2 separate regions of the Homo sapiens genome follow, and region 2 is linked to region 1. The links are contacts of gene promoters, found by promoter capture Hi-C in blood cells and fetal thymus (Javierre and others, 2016). All regions are on one chromosome and are shown on one strand. Each heading gives the region's core, a stretch centred on a gene start or on the middle of the fragment in contact. The rest is flanking DNA. Distances are from core to core; before and after follow the strand shown. Region 1 holds the start of KCNE5 (potassium voltage-gated channel subfamily E regulatory subunit 5). Region 2 overlaps TMEM164 (transmembrane protein 164).

Region 1 (4,379 bases), core at 1,148-3,647:
TTCAAATTCATCCTCGAGGTCAAAGATGCAAAGGGAGCAGAGACCCCTGAATTTGACCCGGAGGTCACTGGTGAACTGACTTATAGAAAGTAGTTTTGGCAGAAAGCACTGGACTCTAGAAGGTTCAAGAGGAGGGAGAGGTGGGAAAATGGAGGTAGCTCATGAATACCACCCATTTGACACAAGTAATGTGTGAGGACTGAGAAGAAGAAGGTCAAACTTTATAATTCCAGTCCTGCTACTTAACCAGTCTGAACCTCAGTTTCCTCTTTGGAAAATGAGAATCCTATTAGCTCATAAGGCTGTTGAAATTAGAAAACAAGTTTAAATGATTATTTGTATGTTACAGTAAAGGGGTTTCTTCCTCCTTTCCTCTCAAAAAAAAAAAAAAAAACCCTAGCTATTTCTAGGTATATGTTAACACAGCAGTCCTCAACCTTTTTGGCACCAGAGACTGGTTTTGTGGAAGACAATTTTTTTCATGGACACTGGGGAGGGGTGGATAGTTTCAGGATGAAACTGTTTCACTTCAGATCATCAGGCATTAGATTCTCATAAAGAGCATGCAATTGTAGATCCATGGCATGCGCAGTTCACAATACGGTTTGAGCTCTTCTGAGACTCTAATGCCACTGCTGATCTGACAGGAGGTGTAGCTCAGGCGATAATGCTCACTTGCCCTCTGCTCACCTCTTTCTGTGCGGCTGGTTCCTAACAGGCCAAGGTCCAGCAGCCTGGGAGGTTGGGGACTCCTGTTTTAACAGATAAGAGAAGTCTTTTTAGCTCAACAGTCATATCACTAGGTTAGCAGTGCTTTGAAAATTCTCTGGCTGTGTCCTCTGGCATTCATCCTGCCAAGTTGCTTTAACAATTCTTTCCTGAGGCCCTCTGAGGTGAGAATATTGAGGCAAGGTGATTAGAAGGGAGCCAGTGTCAGGGTCATGTGGAATGTCTCTGAGGCCTGTTTAGAGGCTGTGAAGCAAGGCTCTGTTTGAGACCCTGGATACAGTTTGGTGCCAACCTCACCTGAACACACAGAAGGCTACAGCCCCTGGGTGGATGGTGGGCTGAAGAACGGTTGGGGAAGAGGCATCGGAAAACCTTCCTTTTTTAACCCATGGCACCTATAGATTGAATGGTCCCTGGACTGAACGGTCTTGAACAGGCAGCATTATTTTCAAGGTGTGCCTAAGGTCATACACTTTTCTTGCTTTCTGCTCTCATTTGGCAACTATGGACAACCAGACCTAGCCAGCACTACCTCATTTTTTCTACCCCACCATCTACAAACCAACCCTTTTCCTTTGTGAAGCTCAGTCTGTTTCCAATTTAACATATCTGGCCTGATCTTTGTCTTGGTGCCTTGTTTTCCCCTAAAAAAAGACAGCCTTTGAGAAAAAAATGGCTGCCCTAAAAGCCATTAGGGCCTAGACCTGTTACCAAGTCTAGAGAGGCACACAGCTGTTTGCTGGCCTAACTGGGAGTAGGGTGAGCATATTCTCTAGAACTGGCACTTTTCAGATCCCGAGATATCCACAGAGTGTAGTCAAAGGGCCTTTTAAAATGTGCATGCTACTCTTATTGGAAGAACTTGGTTTCACTTCTGGGAAGATGGCTTACTTACCCATGGGAAACAGGCTCCCATTATGAATAGTACATTCATGTGCTAAGATGTGTTGACTTTTCAAAAAGTGTCATAGGACATCAGAGCAGGGGTGCTTCCAAGAAGGTGTAATATCACTTATATCACCAGAAACCATTTTGGATAACCAGGGAGTTCTACTCTGCCTTGGCCTTCTAGCAGGTGCCTGAGCACTCAGTCACCAAATTCAGCCTGAGCATCTTCTGAATAAGATGCTCTCCTCCGACAAGGTGGGAGGGGGGTGAAAAGGGGGGCGGGGGGAAAAGGAAAGGAATGAGGACTAGAAAGATAGGCCTGGGTCCCTGTATATGGGAGTAACTTCCATAAAATGTGGACAAGGGGTCTCTGCTGCGGAAAGGCGTCTGCCCTCTCCCTTGAGCGCCCCAAGGCAGAGCTGCCTTAGGGGGCCAAATGCTGTATCTGGGCCAAAGCCTGGCCTGCAGGGCAGGTGGCCAGAACTTGGAAGGAATTCTCTTCCGCAGCCCAGGGTCCAGGCTTGGCCCCAGCAAGCTGCCCTGCCAGCGTCTGCTGCCTGGGGCCTCGCGCATTCCGAGCCCCCGCCCCCTCCGCCCGTCTCCCAGCCTCGCCCCCACTCTTGTCCCCTTCTCCTCCCCCCACCAGCTGTCCCCTTTCCCTGGAGCAGCGAGACAGCCAGAGCCTGGGAAGAGGCGGCCGCGGGCCGGAGGGGGCGTGGTGGGGAAGGGGAGGAGGGGCGGGAGTGAGGGAATAAGGAGGCCCCGCCGTCGGCGCCCCCAGCCACTGCGCGCTCGCCGGAGAGCTGGGTGCTACCGCTGTTTCCGCTGCTGAGCCCTGCCCGCCGGCCGGCCCGCTCGCTAGCTCGCTTCCCCTCGCCCAGGGGGAAAGGTCAGCAGCGTCCTGGAGCCGCCGTGTCACTCCCCGAAAGCCATGAACTGCAGCGAGAGCCAGCGGCTGCGAACCCTTCTGAGCCGCCTGTTGCTCGAGCTGCACCACCGGGGTAATGCCAGCGGCTTGGGCGCTGGCCCTCGTCCCAGCATGGGCATGGGGGTCGTGCCTGACCCTTTCGTGGGCCGCGAGGTGACCAGCGCCAAGGGCGACGACGCCTATCTCTACATCCTGCTCATCATGATCTTCTACGCCTGCTTGGCCGGAGGCCTCATCCTGGCCTACACCCGCTCCCGTAAGCTCGTCGAGGCCAAGGACGAGCCGTCCCAGGCTTGCGCCGAGCACGAATGGGCCCCGGGAGGCGCCCTGACCGCCGACGCCGAGGCTGCCGCGGGCTCCCAGGCCGAGGGCCGCCGCCAGCTTGCCTCCGAGGGGCTGCCTGCCCTCGCCCAGGGCGCTGAGCGGGTCTAAAACCACAGCCCCAGATTGCTGGTTCGCGCCCTCCTCATCTCGCTCATCCCTGGGCGCGCCTCCCACCTTCCACCCCCAACTCCCTTCCAGGGTTCGCCTCATCTGAGGCCCAGATAATGGTGAGAGGCCAGGAGACCTTGTCTGGAAGGCCCTGGAAGGAGAAGCACCACCTTACCCATTCGGGCCAGTTTCTCCCTCTTCACCCCTGCGCCTCCACCCCTACCCCGCACATCCAACTGCACTAAACTGCCTCTGCTCTCTTGTCTTCAGACAGCCCTGACAGCACGCTCCAGCCCTCTGGGAACTGAATCCAACACGTCCAACACTTGGCACTGAACTGAAGCAATGCATTCTATCAGAACTCTGGGCCGTCTAACTGGCAGCTGCTCCAGGGGCTGCCAGGGACTGCTCACTCTGCAGAGCCAACGGGCTTGCCAGGCCGACTGCAGCAGCTCCAGCTTCCAGTTGCCTTAGGGACAGAGACAAAGGAAATGAAGAGACCTCAGACATCTTTTCCCTCCCTCTCTCTTTCAGCAGGGAGCTAGCAGGACACTAGGACCAGTCTGTGGGATAGAATGAACTTAATGGGGGACGGAAGGGGGAGGAGTGCTCAACGGGGAGGGAAATGATCTATGACTCCAACCGTATGATTTTCTTGCCTCCCCAGTTTTCATCCCAGTGGTAACGCCTGATTTTTGGTAGCTATGCCATCTTCTGCTGAGGATTACCATTACTGGGTGTATCACCCCAGTACTTCCAAATGCCTCTCCTCTATTGATTCAGTTGTTATTGCAGTGTCTGCTTCATCCGTGGAACTTGAGGCTCAGATGCCCCCTGCTCTGTAACCCTGGGGAATGTCAGAGGCAGGTAATAAAGGTTGTTTAAACAATAACGCAAGACTCTTCTCTCAGAGATTCCAGCCTTAAGACCCAGTACCATATGGAGAAGGAATCCTTTTTCTTTTGCTTTTGGAAATGATGTTTGGATTTGGGGGTTGGGTGGTTGTGATATTTATATCTATGTAACCAGTTCCAATTTGATATGTGTGATTATGGGTGAAGAAAATGTTTATATGGCTAAATGGGTTGTTTTTTCAAGTGTTTCAAAAGTTATACCTACTTTATTACTTATCCCTCCTTTTTTCTTATTTCTGAAGCACTTTCAAAGATCACAATGCAGTCTTTCAGGATGCACTTTAAAAAACCTTTAAGGCCCATCCCTTTTAGCTATTATCAAACCTAATTTTTAGAAGCCACCTTAATAATTGTTTTTATTTTACTTTTTTTGAGACAGAGTCTCACTGTGTCACCCAGGCTGGAGTACAGTGGCACAATCAAGGCTTACTGAAGCCTCTGCCTCCTGGGTTCAAGCGATTCTCCTGCCTCAGCCTCCCAAGTAGCCT
Region 2 (4,379 bases), core at 880-3,379, 410 kb before region 1:
TTTTTGTAAAAATCTTAAGTGTGAAGCTCAAAGTAGTTTTTTAAAAAAAATTCCCCTTCCCCCCCGCCCCATGGTAACTCAAGACAAGAACTTTTCTCTTTCCTTGAATTGAGCATCAGTGAGGAAGCTGCTTCACTATGCCAAGGGAGAAGTGCTACTCACAGTTACCTAGTTGTCTCTCAAGAGCAGGAGAGAAGGTGAGGTGAGGTATGGTGGGGTAAGGTGGGGTAAGGTGAGGTAAGGTTGGGTGAGGAGTGGTGATGCCAGGTGAGGTGAGGCCCACACAAGGCACTGGCCCCTGTCAATTATGAGTGAGGTGGAAGGGGCACTCAGTTCTCAGTTGCAAGATCTCCTGACACCAGGAGATTTAATTGTCAGTTGTGTCCCAAAGCCCCTCCAGGGTCAGGGTTTCTGAAGACTTACTACGTATGATTTAAATGGAGCATGTTTTCCCAAAAGGGAGGCTGTTCCTCAGCTGGACCATCTCCCTGAGCCAAAGTGGGCATGGAGGGTGGGAGTACAGGTAGGGTAGAGAATGAGGGTGGCTGGGTTAGCTGGGCATGTGGGAGAGTGTGAGAAGAGAGAGAATCCCTTTAATAGTGTTTTTCTTTTTCTTAAAAATGAGTCCAGGCCGGGCGCGGTGGCTCACGCCTGTAATCCCAGCACTTTGGGAGGCCGAGGCGGGCGGATCACGAGGTCAGGAGATCGAGACCATCCCGGCTAAAACGGTGAAACCCCGTTCTCTACTAAAAATACAAAAAATTAGCCGGGCGTAGTGGCGGGCGCCTGTAGTCCCAGCTACTTGGGAGGCTGAGGCAGGAGAATGGCGTGAACCCGGGAGGCGGAGCTTGCAGTGAGCCGAGATCCTGCCACTGCACTCCAGCCTGGGCGACAGAGCGAGACTCCGTCTCAAAAAAAAAAAAAAAAAAAAAAAATGAGTCCAAAGGCTGTTCTTTAGGAATACGATAGTTAATGATTAAGTCCATGTGCTAAGGTCACGATGCAGTTATGGAAATATAAGCAATCTAATAAAGGACGGAGTGAGGGCAGTAAGGAGTAGGTAGTGGGAAGAAATATTAATTCAACTTAATTGAAAGGTTCAACTTAATTTAAAGGTTAAAAAATGAGATTGAAAATATTCTCCTAACAGTAAAATTAGAAATTTGCTATCGGCCCTTAAAGGAAGCAGGCAAGTGAGAACAGAATGAATGGGCTCCCAGATTGTTTCTGAAGAGTCAAAGAGCCATTCAAGACACACCTTTCAAGGTACCAGGGTCACAGATGGCAATTTTGCCTGTGGCTAAGCAGAGGTGACTGGCCTGCCTCCTGTCACATAGGCGGCCATTCTCCACAGCCCCCCAGCTACAAGCCCTCCACAATATATGGTGGTGTATATCTGAACCACAGGAAGGCACACAATAACTGGAAGCTAATGCAAAAATAAATCATTTGTGTTTTCTGATGTGGCTGGGTTTTGATGGAGTTTGTGAATCACTACTGCCCAACCCTATCCACTGAAGGAGGGGCCAATAACTCACATCCTTTCCCAGCAGCTTCATACGCCTGGCAAAGGTGACCTTGCAACACCACACTCATCTATCACTCCTCTTTTCATGAATCTTTAATGGTTCCCTATCACCAATCGTATCATGTCCATATGTCTCCTCTAGGTATTCCAGCTTATTGTACTCTGCCTTTATCCTACCAATCTGGCATCATCTCCCTTTTCTCACAACATACACCTCCCGCTGGAATCAGTTTCCATTTTGAACCAAACTTATGGCTTCCCCTCTCTCTCTCTCTCTCTACGGCTCTACCAGGGTCTAGACTGCCTCTCCAAAATTCCAGAAAACTACAATGTCAATGTTACTGTGGGTCACTATACATACCCAGCTTCTTTTGGCCATAAAAAAGAGACCATAACTTTAAATATTCTACATTATCCTGCACTGTCCCATATGGTTACCACTAGCTACATGTGGCTATTTAAAGTATTTAAAATTAGTAAAATGAAAAAAAAAATCAGTTCCTCATTTGCAGTAACCACATATACAGTGCACAATAGCCACATGTGGCCACTGACTACCATATCAGACAGTGCAGATATAAAACATTTCCATCATCACATAAACTTCTACCAGATACACAAGAGAATAGCCTAACATATGCTAAAATTGTTTTTTATCACTACTTGGAAAATTTGATGATTCAAATTTCACAAAAAAGAGTGACTAGGACTTATAGATACAGCCCATCTTAAGTAACCAGCAAAGCATCTCTTATCAGTGATCCCAATCCGTTCTGTAAACATCACAGGTAATTGCAACATCGAATATTTTGAAAGGTCATCTGCAGCAGACCTTAGGCACCTTTCAACATAGCTCTGATAGGCTAATCAGCCCATTGTACACTAAGCTCTCTACTAGGCTCTGGGAGTCAATGCAAAGATAACATTACCCAGTGTCCATGCCATAGGCATAAAGCCAGTACAGAGATAACCAAAAAAAGGGGCAGAAAGACATAAATACCACAAGAGAGGTACACAGTGCTACAGGGATTCAAAGGCAAGAGATCATATCGAGTAGGAGGAACTAGGGAGGACTCCACAGACAGGTACATGAATACAGATAGGATTGAGCCCTAAAGAATAAGTAGAATTTTAACAGAAGGAGCCAGAAAGATGAAAGGGGGTAACTGCATGAGGAAAAGGAGAAGCAAGTTAGGGCCCAAGGTACATTTATGAAAAACTGAGCCAAAGAAGAACTATGTGATCCCATTCATCATTCAACAATCATTTGAAACTTTTTCTCCAATCACCTTAACAAAGAATTACACATTAACTTAGATGCCATTTTTTTAAAATTTGCTTTAAAAAAAAGATTTTGCTTTAGTGACAATATCTGATGTTGGTGAGGATGAGTTGGAAGAGGCTCTCTCTGTCCCCACTGCTAGTAGGAATGTACATAAGCACTACCTTTTTTAAAAAAAAACAACAAAAAAAGAGATATTAAGCTCCTTAAAAACATCCATACCCCTGTCCTGGTAACTCCACTTCAAGGAAAGTGACCTACAAAATAATGTGAAACACAAAGATTTGTACAAGAGTAAACTTTTTAAAGTTTATAACTGCAAAAAAAAAAAAATAGGAGCACATTGGGAGGCCGAAGTGGGCGGATCACTTGAGATCAGGAGTTCGAGACCAGCCTGGACAACATGGTAAAACCCCATCTCTACTAAAAAATACAAAAATTAGCTGGCCGCGGTGATGGTAGCCTGTAGTCCCAGCTACTTGGGAGGCTGAGGCACAAGAATTGCTTGAACCTGGGAAGCAGAGGTTGCAGTGAGCTGAGATCGTGCCACTGCACTCCAGCCTGGGTGACAGAGCAAGAATCCATCCCCCCTAAAAAAAAAAAAAGGAAATGGCTAGGTAAATTATGATCCAGTTACATACAGGATGGAGTACCACATAGGCATTAAGAGTTATGCCAACAAGTTTTAAATAACACAGGAAACGTTTATGAGGATGCTTAGTGAAAAAAATCAGGTATAAAATTGGCAATATACAGTATAGACACAAGCATGTAAAATAATGTGAAGAGAAGAAGGAGAATAAGCAAAAATGTTAACATTTTTGTGGCAAGACTATGAGTGATTTTTATTTATTTTTTTCATTTCTTTTTTTAATTTTATTTTATTATTATTATACTTTAAGTTTTAGGGTACATGTGCACAACGTGCATGTTAGTTACATATGTATACATGTGCCATGCTGGTGTGCTGCACCCATTAACTCGTCATTTAGCATTAGGTATATCTACTAATGCTATCCCTCCCCCCTCCCCCCACCCCACAACAGTCCCCAGAGTGTGATGTTCCCCTTCCTGTGTTCATGTGTTCTCATTGTTCAATTCCCACCAATGAGTGAGAATATGCGGTGTTTGGTTTTTTGTTCTTGCGATAGTTTACTGAGAATGATGATTTCCAATTTCATCCATGTCCCTACAAAGGACATGAACTCATCATTTTTTATGGCTACATAGTATTCCATGGTGTATATGTGCCACATTTTCTTAATCCAGTCTATCATTGTTGGACATTTGGGTTGGTTCCAAGTCTTTGCTATTGTGAATAGTGCCGCAATAAACATACGTGTGCATGTGTCTTTATAGCAGCATGATTTATAGTCCTTTGGGTATATACCCAGTAATGGGATGGCTGGGTCAAATGGTATTTCTAGTTCTAGATCCCTGAGGAATCGCCACACTGACTTCCACAATGGTTGAACTAGTTTTATTTTCTATAGCAGTGTTCAGCAAACAATAACCCGCGAACCAAACGTGGCCCACTGACTGATTTGTATATAGTTTTAGTAGAACACT

Evidence for each region. Contacts are between HindIII fragments. The CHiCAGO score rates a contact against its expected background, and 5 or more counts as called.
Region 2: a contact is called between a fragment that was not itself captured here and the fragment with the promoter of KCNE5 in region 1, in 1 of 17 cell types (neutrophils). The highest score is 5.4, in neutrophils.

The regions. Positions count from the first base shown.
Region 1 is chrX:109,623,190-109,627,568 of GRCh38, reverse strand. It overlaps KCNE5 (potassium voltage-gated channel subfamily E regulatory subunit 5), which reads left to right and starts at 2,397. Exons shown (of 1, transcript NM_012282.4): 1 at 2,397-3,869. The coding sequence starts at 2,549. The coding sequence ends at 2,977. The HindIII fragment of the contact is 6,764 bases long and covers 1-4,379 here.
Region 2 is chrX:110,034,541-110,038,919 of GRCh38, reverse strand. The region is part of intron 2 of TMEM164 (transmembrane protein 164); the gene reads right to left. Among named protein-coding and RNA genes, the nearest start is that of MIR652, 19 kb to the left of the region's middle. The HindIII fragment of the contact is 5,858 bases long and covers 1-4,379 here.